Linked DNA regions of Homo sapiens: all the other regions are linked to region 3. Evidence: promoter capture Hi-C in human tissues and cell types (Jung and others, 2019). All regions are on one chromosome and are shown on one strand. Each heading gives the region's core, a stretch centred on a gene start or on the middle of the fragment in contact. The rest is flanking DNA. Distances are from core to core; before and after follow the strand shown.

Evidence for each region. The method cuts DNA at HindIII sites, captures the fragments that hold promoters and counts their contacts. A contact is called where the count stands out against the background at its distance.
Region 1: a contact is called between a fragment that was not itself captured here and the fragment with the promoter of KCND2 in region 3, in 4 of the 25 tissues and cell types used here (dorsolateral prefrontal cortex, mesenchymal stem cells, mesendoderm cells and 1 more).
Region 2: a contact is called between a fragment that was not itself captured here and the fragment with the promoter of KCND2 in region 3, in 4 of the 25 tissues and cell types used here (H1 embryonic stem cells, heart left ventricle, mesendoderm cells and 1 more).
Region 4: a contact is called between a fragment that was not itself captured here and the fragment with the promoter of KCND2 in region 3, in 3 of the 25 tissues and cell types used here (heart left ventricle, mesendoderm cells and thymus).

What each region holds. Positions count from the first base shown.
Region 1 is chr7:119,742,996-119,745,695 of GRCh38, reverse strand. The region is part of intron 4 of LINC02476 (long intergenic non-protein coding RNA 2476); the gene reads left to right. Among named protein-coding and RNA genes, the nearest start is that of LINC02476, 160 kb to the left of the region's middle. The HindIII fragment of the contact is 4,324 bases long and covers 1-2,700 here.
Region 2 is chr7:119,722,342-119,725,235 of GRCh38, reverse strand. The region is part of intron 4 of LINC02476 (long intergenic non-protein coding RNA 2476); the gene reads left to right. Among named protein-coding and RNA genes, the nearest start is that of LINC02476, 180 kb to the left of the region's middle. The HindIII fragment of the contact is 7,150 bases long and covers 1-2,894 here.
Region 3 is chr7:120,271,823-120,274,668 of GRCh38, reverse strand. It overlaps KCND2 (potassium voltage-gated channel subfamily D member 2), which reads right to left and starts at 1,494. Exons shown (of 6, transcript NM_012281.3): 1 at 1-1,494. The coding sequence starts at 36. RefSeq lists an enhancer at 729-798 and silencers at 1,239-1,388, 2,308-2,407. The HindIII fragment of the contact is 5,227 bases long and covers 1-2,543 here.
Region 4 is chr7:119,554,463-119,557,162 of GRCh38, reverse strand. No RefSeq gene overlaps it. Among named protein-coding and RNA genes, the nearest start is that of LINC02476, 350 kb to the left of the region's middle. The HindIII fragment of the contact is 6,938 bases long and covers 1-2,700 here.

The DNA of each region.
Region 1 (2,700 bases), core at 24-2,523, 530 kb after region 3:
TTTTCTACATGGATATTGATATGGTTTGGTTGTGTTCCCACTCAAATCTAATCTTGAATTCCCACATGTTGTGGGAGGGACCTGGTGGGAGGTAATTGAATCATGAGGGCAGGTCTTTCCCATGCTGTTCTCATGATGGTAAATAAGTCACCCAAGATCTGATGCCTCTATAAGGAGGAATTTCCCTGCACAAGCTCTTTCTTTGCCTGCTGCCATCCATGTAAGACATGACTTGTTCCTCCTTGCCTTCCACCGTAATTGTGAGGCCTCTTCAGCCATGTGGAACTGGAAGTCAATTAAACCTCTTTTTCTTCCCAGTCTTGGGTGTGTCTTTATCAGCAGTGTGAAAATAGACTAACACAGACATTTGTGACATCTGCACAAAACAGCAGTCTTATTTCTTCTTTTTGAAACTGTATGCTTTAAATTTTTTTCTTGCCTTGTTTTCCTGTCTAGAACCACTTGTATCAAATAGAATTAGTGGTGAAAGTGAGCATCCTTGCTTTGTTTCCCATATTAGAGGAAAGTCATTCAGTCTTTCACCATTAAATATGATGTCAGCTTCAATTTTTATGTAGATATTCTTTACCAATCCAGGGAAGTTCCCACATATTTATTATTGTTCTGATTTTTTATAATCAAGAATGGATGTTGAATTTTGTCAGAGGTTTGTTCTTTATCTATTGATATGATCATGTGATTTTTTTAAAATTAGCTTGCTAATTTCATAAATTAACTACTTTTCAAATGTGCAATCAGCCTTGCATCCCCAAAATAAACCTAATTTAGTCATAGTGTATATAGATATTTTTGTGTACTAAGTACTATTTGCTAATATTTGGTATAGAATTTTTGCATGTATATTTGTGAGAGATATTGGTGTGTAGTTTTTGGATGTGTGTGTATGTCTGTGTGTGTGTTTTATCTAGTTTTAAAGTCAGGTTAATACTGACTTTAAAGAATTATTTGGGAAGTATTTACTTCTTTTCTGTAAAAAAAAGGGTATAGAATTTGTTTTAATTCCTTTTTAAGTGTTTCTTAGAATTCTTCAGTGAATATCAGGGCTGGAAGATTTCTTGTTGGGTTGTTTTAAAAATTATGAATTCATGTCTTAATAGTTGCAAGGCTATTAAATTATGTATTTTATACTGAAAGAATTGTTTTAGTATGTACTTTTAAAAGAATTGGTTCATAGAGTCCAAATTGTTCAGTTCAGATATGTAGAGCTACTTCTATTATTCCCTTACTATCCTTTTGATTTCTGCAGTGTCTGTAGTTATATGAACTATTGTATTTCTTATATTAGCAATTTGTCTTTACTCTTGAATTTTCTCTTTTGTGAGACTTTCTAAAGGTTTATCAATTTTATCAGTCTTTTCAAAGAACTTTTCCTTTGAATTTAAATAATTATTTCTCCTTATTTATTTATAGCGGTTTTCATTTACATAGAACCCTCAAATGTATCTACACTATGTAAACCACACTGTAATGCCATACTAGCAACACTATTTTGTGAGACTGGATGAATACCTCTAGTACCATAAGTAATTATTATCCTGTGTAATGCATCTCAGCCAGATGCATTATACCACATTCTATGTCATATTAATGAGGGTCTACATTTTTATTAATTATTCTGCCACATTTTAAGTCACAGTAAAAAGAAAATATTATATCAATAAATGAGGCTTTATTCACACAGCAGAAAATATGATTTTATGAAACAATTTATATGCAACTCTCTCGTTATATTTAACCAATGTTTTAATTTACAAAACTACAAAGTACCTTTGTCTTTTCACTATGGCTTTTTGTAAAGATTTCAAGTATTTCTGATGAACAGTAATTTTTTCAGTGTCTACTTAATGTCATTTTCAACATAGTTTTAGGGACATATTAGTGTGTAAAATAGTATTTTTAGAATTATTATTAATAATTACTATTATTCAAGCTAATTACCATTACTATTAATAATGGTAATCATGCTGGTGTCATATTTAGATTGCAACTGACAACTGAATTTAAGTGAGAAAAATATTCATAAATATATTTTTAAATTAACATTACCTCATTTTCTGTAACAACAAAATATGGATATTTAAAAATGTATATTGATTTATTTGTTCATTTATATTCTGTGTCTTTTGTGATAAAAATAACTCATTTAATTTTTTTCAGAAAAAAAGACTGGCAACTTTGTGTGCTGGTTTGTTTTTATATGAATTAAAACCATTGAGTCATAAACTCGTGACAAACTGCACTTACAATAGAATGATGCCAGCAAGATCTGCTATAATTTTTAAATAACAATAATGACAAAGTAAAATAATAGTTTTCATGTTCATCTTGAGTTTAAAAGAATCTTTAACTTTCAGCACTAAATGATGAAGACTCATTATTTTCAATGAGTTAAATTAATAAGAAAAGAAATCTTGTAGCAATCACATTGTAAAACTTTTAGATTTTTGTCTCTGTGTAATAAGCTTTAAGTTTCACAAGAAATACTTATATCTAGTTAGCAGGTTGTAATCTTATTGACTAATAATAGCCATTAGTACTTTCTTTAAATAAAAAAAAAAATTCTCCCTAGAGTAAATTATCATTGCCCACCTTCTGTAACAATTTAGAACACCATTACTATTTCTTTCAAGCTACACAGTGGAATAGAAATGTTTAAACAGCTAGTTGATTCAGTCAAAG
Region 2 (2,894 bases), core at 147-2,646, 550 kb after region 3:
TAGATTATTGCAGATGTGACTAGACAGTGACAAGGAACTCACTTTTTATACAAAAGTTAGAGGCTGAAAAGTAAAAATTCAAGTATCCTCATTATTACTTCTACCCCCTTATTCTTGGACCCATTTATTTACATACCTGCATTGGTTTAAGAGCTGTCCACATCCTAAAGAGTTGTGACCACTCATCATGGGGTATCACTGAGCTGCTGGCATCTAACATGCACCTTTAAGAGGCCAGTTTATCACTGTCAGCTGGCAACTTCTGGAGTTACATGGTACAGTGGATCCCATGAAATAGGCCCATCTCTCCTCTACATCTTCTTTGCTGAAATCCTGGGTAGCAATTTTCAGGGGTTTTTTCTGTCCTTTTGATATAGGAAGGAGAGAGGGAAATACTGGGTAGAAGAGGGTGGTTCCCCGGCAAAGGCCCCATGCTCATGCCTGGAGACTGCGGTTCTAAATGGGAACTGGCATTTCTGTTTTCGTGCCCAAAATGTTGCCTTTTGGCTTGCCATGCCTCCCATCCTGTGCCTATATAAACCTGAGACCTTAGCAGGCACACACACAGGTGGCTGAACATCCAGAGGAGCAGAGGAACAGAACAGCAGAGAACAGCAGAGAGTGGTGGAGAGTGGCAGAAAGCAGCAGGGCAGCACGCCAGAGAAAAGGAGGGGTGTCTAGACACCCAGAGGAGTTCGGCTGGGGCAGTCGGTGAGGGGTTTGGCTGTTGGAAGTTCCAGCTCCAGGGGAGAATCACCTTCTTACTCCATCTCCCTGCTTCCAGCTCCCCATCTATCCTGCTGAAAGTCACCTCCACCATTCAGTAAAAACCTAGCATTCATCTTTGGAGTCCATGTGTAACTTGATTTTTCCTGGATGCTGGACAGAAGCTCAGGATCCAGAAAGCTGTCACACTGGCCCTCTGCCCTTGCAGAAAGGCAGAGGGTTAATTGAGCTGATTAATACTCAAGCCATCCTCAAACGGCAAAGCTAAAAGGGCACATTGTAACACGCGCCCACCTGGGCTCCTTCACCTGCCAGTCTGTGTGCTCCCCCTCTTGCAAGGCGTTTGAGCAGCCAGGCGACTCAACAGGCGAGCCACACCCTGTCACATTTCCTGCCGGGGGAGTCAGGGAACTCTCCCATTTTACTTTCTACTACCATAACTCGTATCTTAGAATCAAAGGATTAGTGTGGAGATTCTGGTGACTGTTAGGTATGTCTATATAAAACGCATGTTTGAAAACAGGAAAGTGGCATACAGGTAGATCGGCTGAGCATAGTGAACCTAATTCTATAAAATCATGTCTTACCATCACTCCTGACCGTCAGAGGACAACTGCAACTGAGCTCTCAGTCATGAAGCCATCTGGTTACCAGTTTTGATTTTTGTTGTTGTATAATTTTTATTTGTATTCTTTTTTGAAGGATTACTTTATAGACCTTTAGTGGAGTTCTAAGGATGCACCTTTACAATATAAAGATACCCTCTTGCTACTTACCCTTCATACTTTGCATTTCTTATTCTCCTCTTAATTACCAACTATATAAAACAACCTGTAAAAGTGGATATTATTCTCTGTAGAAAAGTTTGTGAAAATAAAATATTTGACTTCACATGTCTTGCCTTGAGATGCAGAACTAGAACAACACAATAAATAGAATAAGCTACTGCTATGGTTTCAATGCATATATTTTTCCAAAATTCTTAGATTGAAATCTAAGACTTAATGTGATAGTATTAAGCATTGGGGCCTTCTGTGAAGTGATTAAGTTAGGTAGGCTTTACCCTCATGAATGGATCAGTGACCTTATGAAAGAACTGGAGGGATTTAATTAGGTCATTTTGCCCTTTTGCCTTCCACCACATAAGGACACAGCAGGAAGGAACAGTATAAGAACTGTTGACAGTTCTGTTGACATCAACTTTGCCAGCCCCTTAATAGTGGACTGTCTATTTCCAGAACACAGAGAAAATTAATTTCTCTTACTTATAAATTACCTAGTCCGAGGTATTTTGTTACAGTAGCATGAACAGTCTAAGACAACTACTTAGCAATATTAGTATTGATTCTAAATGTCATAGAGAAGAGTTGCAGTGTTTATTCTTAATGAGATTAAAACCAACAACATGAATTAGCAAGATACTACATATTCATCATCACCATTCTCTCCTTCAGTTTTAAATCAGCTTTAGTAAAATATAATTTACAAACAAATCCTCCAACTTTCAATGTTTGATTTGATGAGCTGTGTGTATAATAATAGAAACACCAACACGAATATGATATAGAATATTTCCATTAACCCCCACATTTTTATGTGCTTTTTGACAATCAAGGTCACTTCTCATCTCTTACCCCCAACAACCACTTACTTGCTTTCTGGCACTACACTATTGACATATTTCAAACTTTATATAAATAGAATAAAGAATATATAGCAATAATAATTGGCTTCTTTCAAATGGGTTTTTAGAGTTTTCCATTTTTTATCTGTTATGAACAATCAACGATAAGCATTTGTAAATATGGCCACCTTTGCACACATATACTTGTCTTTCAGGGTACATATTCAGTAGAGGAATTGCAGCATAGATAAATTATTTTAATTTTAATATATCTTGACAAAAATGGCTTACAGATTTATGTTCCTAAAAGGTGATCTAAGAACAAAACTTTGTAGAAAAAGCAAATTTATAGCAGTGTCAGATAATTATTTTCTTACCCACTCAGGGAAACTTGATATTATCTGCCTTAGTTTGGGTCCTGCAAAAGCAAAGCCTGAATAAGAGATTAAAATGGTGACATTTTATTTGTTATGGATGAACCATGGGAAATTAGAATAACTAACTTATTTTATAAATAATAAAAGTGCCTGGGAAAGGGAGGCAG
Region 3 (2,846 bases), core at 245-2,744:
TGCAAAAGGCAGCCACGCTGCCACCCCCGCCGCCATGATTACTTGAAGCGGAAGGAAGAAGGGTAACGAGGCGTCTACAATGGGTCACCGAAGCAGCCAAAAGTCACCCACTTCCTCCAGTCAAGCAAAGTACTAGTGAGAAACGTGGTCCAGAGGTGTAACTCTTATTCCAAGATAGGGCTCCTGGTAAAGTCACAGTTCTCAGAAGGGCAACTTTCCCTCCAAGACAGGTATTTGGAATAATGGCAACAAAATACAACGTCCTAACAATCACCCTCAACAGAACCCAGCCAAATCTCTTCCTGCAGGTGGGCTAGGCCACCCTCTGGCACAAATAAGCACACAGGTGCAGCCGTTTCTTCAAACAGGTGTTTTTGATTTCTCCCCGGCACAGTCTGGATAATATAGGGTCAGTATGTGGAGTGTAGGATAGAGAAGACGAACGAGAGTCACCCAATAGAATTCTTTCGACGAATTAGGGAACCCTTACACCTACCCTTCTCACTCTTTCAAACCTTCCTTTCCAAGTAGCCCTTCCCGCCAAAGGAGTCTCAAAAAGGCGACCTGTTGTTGTAGCTCAGGAGATGCGGTCACAGCCGCTGCCCCACGTCTCTCTTTGGGGGTCCAGCTGCTGCTGCCTCTACTCCTCGGGCTGTATTTGCAGAGATGGAGGTGATGTGCAGTGGTTACGGTGGGGGGCGTTAATAGAGATTCTCCTCCCCCACGTCTACAAACACCCTCTGTGTCTGCCAAAAGCGTTCGCCCAATCGCCCCTTCACTCTCTTTTCAAGTTCAGCTCAGGTGCAGTGTGACAGTTACAGAGCTCAGGAGCTGGCAGCCGCCGCCGCCGTGGCGGCAGCAGCATCTGCTTCCGCGCAGAACGCGCCGCTCCCGCGGTACATACCTGGCCAAGTGCGCGCCGGGGCTTAGTTGCATAGAGACTTTCTCCTCGCCGTGCACCCGGAAAGGGAAGAGGAGAGAAAGCAGCTCGCGAGCAGCCGAATCCGATGCGCCGAGAGAGCATAAATAAAGCTCAAGCGAGCTCTTCTTTCCCTTCCCCCATCCCTCCGTGCCTCCCTCCTCCTTTTCACCTTCCAAAAGCCAGGCGCAGGCGAGCAGAGCAGCAGCAACAAGTTCAAAAGGTGCGGGGGAGGCGAGAACGGAGGGGACTCGCTCCTGCCAACTTACTGCGGGGCCACTGTCGCGGGAGCCTGGCCAGCGCGGTGCGGGGCTGCGGGGCGGCGGGGCTGCGGGGCGGCCGGGCGGGCGGCGTTGGCGCGGTGGGGCCGGGGCCGGGGCCGGCACGGGCTCTCGTCCGAGCGCGGAGGCAGAAGGCGCTCGGCAGCGCGGGGGCGCGGGAGGGCTGCTAGCTGCTTCCCCGCCAGTGGGTGGTCCTGCATCTCCCCGGGCTCCCCGCGCTGCTCTGCTAGTGCGATCAATAAATAAGGAGAAAATAAATAAATAACCGCGCGCACGCCCCGCCACGCAGGTTAGGAAAGGCGTCTCCTGCCTTTCCCTCGGCTTGACCTTTCTCCGCCCCCGCCCCCTCGGGCTCCTCTCGCTCCACCCCAGCCACCCACCAACCCCGGCGCAAAATGTCACCGAGGGAGAGCATCCAGGTGGATCTGCTGGGGAGAAAAGCGAGCCTCGGATGAACAAAGGGAAGCTTCACGTGCTGGGCTGCGGTGGTTTGGTGGAGGAGAGGAGAAAGGGGACCCGTGCCTTGCTTCTGCCTCTCGAGTCCCGGTTCAAGGCGAGCGTGGGAAAATGGGGGGAAAGAGAGCGAGAGAAGCTGGGAAGGAGGGTGAGCGGAGCGGAATGCGCAGGAATTGGTTGTCTTCTGGGGGCGACTGGAAGGCAAGACCCGCAAAGCTCCGACGCGGAATTTTTAAGTGCATTTCCTCTTTCTGTTTTTATTTATTTTCAAAACCAGATTGTTAACGTTGCAGGGATTGATATGCCATCTGTCCAACTTGCCAAAAAATCAGAGACTCTCCTCGATCGAGGTCTTGACACAACTCCTTTTCCCGTCCTTTACGAATAACAGGGATGTGGAGCCCTTTTCTAAATGTCATCGTCAAGGGGCGTGCGTCTCTGAAAGTTTGCGTCCCCTTCATCCTCTCTGCGCATCACTGCGCATATTTAAAATAGTTAAAAGAGTTAAAGGTGTTCGTATGAGGGGTTACTGAGGTAGAGAGACACAGGAAAATTGTCGCTACCAACCTTTTTGTTTTTCGCGTACCCCGCCCCCGAGTCATTAGGAATCATCCTTAAAACCAAACGTAACACATACAAGCCACTAGATGGCGTGGATGGCGAGAAGTTAAATCTGCACCTAAGGTTTGGATGCTTTAGGAAGGTGAAGGATCAAAATTAACTGGTCCAACAGAGAGTCAGATCACATAAACATCCCCAAACCCCTTCGCTGCCACCCACCTTTTTTGTGTTTATGTGACATATACTACTTAGGCTTGAGTCTGCATTTGGATAGTTGTGGGATGAGATGTGGAGAGTTTCCTTTTGAAATTCCTTTGAAAATTAAATCTAGATTACTGAATCATCATCATCATAGTAATTAAGATCTTTGGCAATAATGAGGCTTCATCTGTATTGATGAAGAATAGTAGCCTAATTTCTACCTAAAAATTACTTTTCATGGCTTGGTTTGACTGCCCTTGGTTTGTAAAATAAGTGGACTGTGTGTTGTACTTTACGGAAATTGACTTTTAAGCCCTAGAGATTACAGGCATGATGTGTCAACCTTGAAAATTTGAAATGGGATACGTCAAAGAAAATATATAAACTAAAAAATGAGTATAGAAAATAACCAGAGAATTTAAAATATC
Region 4 (2,700 bases), core at 32-2,531, 720 kb after region 3:
AAATTAGCCAGGCATGGTGGCGCGCGCCTGCAGTCCCAGCTACACGGGAGGCTGAGGCAGGAGAATGGCGTGAACCCGGGAGGCGGAGCTTGCAGTGAGTCGAGATCGCACCACTGCACTCCAGCCTGGGCGACAGAGCAAAACTCCGTCTCAAAAAAAAAAAAAAAAAAATTGGCAATATTTGCAACTCAATCTCTGTGGTTGCCTTTGTAAAGTTGTCTTTGTAAAGTAAAGAAGGACATTTGAATTTGTAATCAATTATTTATTTCAGCTTCAAATAAGTGTCTACTTGCTGGCTAAGGAGCCAATATCTGTTTAGATGACCAGCTATAGTGCTGTTACATTCAAATGTAGAGAATGCTCAACAATATTAACATCAGCAGAAGGATATGTATTTTGGCTCTTAAATTTTAGTATTTTTGCTCTTGAAATGACCTGGCTGAAGGTTGCACATTTTTACACTCTGGCTCACTTTTGTACAGTTTTAGTAACTAGAAAACCATTTCCAAAATATTGTTGTCAGCTGCTGGCCTATTGTCAGTCTAATCTAATTGCTTGGCCAAGATCCCAAGATCCCTTGTTTTTGTTCTGTTGGTCTTTCTTTTTTTTCCATGCAAAACATAGAATTTCTTTGTTCTGTTCTGCAATCATCAAAAGGGATTGGACTTTGATACGCCCTGTTCAAATAGCGTTATTAGATATTTTGCTGAAGACAGTAAAAGGCATTATTTAGGACAATATTAACTTTATTTCTTAAACTCTTGATCCTCCAGAGCAGATTTCTTGAAAGCTATTGTCAGAGGGATGTGAACCAGAGCACCTCCATTTTGAATAGGAGCTGAGTAAAATTAGGCTGAGAACTCCTGGGCTGCATTCCCAGATGGTTAAGGCATTCTAAGTCACAGGATGAGATGGGAGGTTCGCACAAGATACAGGTCATAAAGACCTTGCTGATAAAACAGGTTGCAGTAAAGAAGCTGGCTAAAACCCACCAAAACCAAGATGACGATAAGAGTGACCTCTGGTTGTCCTCACTGCTACACTCCCTTTAGCATCATGAGAATTTTCAAATGCCATGGCAATGTGAGGCAGTTACCCTATATGGTCTAAAAAAGGAGGCATGAATGAATAATCCACCCCTTGTTTAGCATATTATCAAGGAATAAATACAAATGGGCAGCCAGGAGCCCTCAGGGCTGCTGTGTCTATGGAGTAGCCATTTTTTTTGTTCTTTTACTTTCTTACAAATTTGCTTTCACTTTACTCCATGGACCCGCCCTGAATTCTTTCTTGTGGGAGATCCAAGAACTCACTGTTGGGGTCTGGATTCCGACCCCATTCCTATAACAGTATCAATCTGTTAACAAGCATTGAATGTGGCCTTCAAGGAATTATTGATAAATGTTTACTTTCATTGTTTTATTTCAGGCTTTCTAAATCTTCCAGTAGACACATATGTTGGCATCCTGCATCTGATTTATATAGTTATTTGTTTTGTTACTCATAGGAAAACAAACGAATCCATTTGTTTTTTAAAATTAGTGTGGACATATAAATCTGCCTGCATTCATGCTACTAATTTACATAGGGACTTTGTTAGAAATTTACAAATTTATTCCAAAATCTGTCTGTGTACTCAACGTTTACTATCAGTTCTTCTCACAGAGTATGTAGTAAAGAGATGAAACCATAAAACTCATGTCAATACTGTAACACTGTCTAAAGTGTTTTGTAAATGGTAAAATTATAGCAATACACTTTCTGTAAATGAATTTGGTTTTAATAGCACAGGACTCTAGAGATCCTTTGGTTTCTGATTTAGAATGCTAGCCTAAAGCAGGTTGAAAATTAAAGGTTGAAATAGCTTGGTTATCCATGACGTTTTACTACTGTGTTACTGCTGTGGATATAGAACTGATTATTAAAATATTTGTTTCCCCAGTGGGATTTTCATTTCTGGTGTTTTGATCGTGATAAGAGCAGTATTCCTTTAACTGTCCCTTTGGGTATGATAAAATTATTTCAAGTAAATGAGAGTTAATCATAGATTTCATATAAGCTGGACGATCTTTTATCACTACACTGAGAGGTAGTAGCTGACATCTGCATTTCTTGCTTTCCTTTGTCTATTGATTTTATTACCAATGATTATGTGAGTACACACCATTTCTATTTTATTTTGATAGGGTCTGCTCCTCTTCTGTTACAGTTTGCAGTCTACTCTGTGGGTAAAGCTATTCTCTGAGTATTGATGTAAGAAGAAATATTACTGAAGTAATAGGTATGCCAGCTACCTATTGTAAAAGTGATTAACAGCAAAATGAAGCTTACCTGTAATGACTGGAATAACAGAACAAATGTGTACACGTTTGTAGACACACACATGTGCACACACATACACACACAATTGCTTCTGAAGCACTCAACAAACTATTATTTTATAAATCATCTATTCTGGTGGGTAACAAGTTTGTGAATCTTCTATTTTTTTTGTTTCCTGCAGTAATTAAAGGGTCATGACTTCTTCCTCATTCCTGGTAGTAATTCACAAATTCGTGACATAGGTATGTGCTACTGATTGTTTACATAATCTGTTTTTGATGAGGGTGTGCAACATAGCTACACACTGTCTATCTCCAAATGGCCGAATCTAAACTGAAAGCTGACTTGGGCAGGCTGACATTTTGCTGGCTTTCAAAT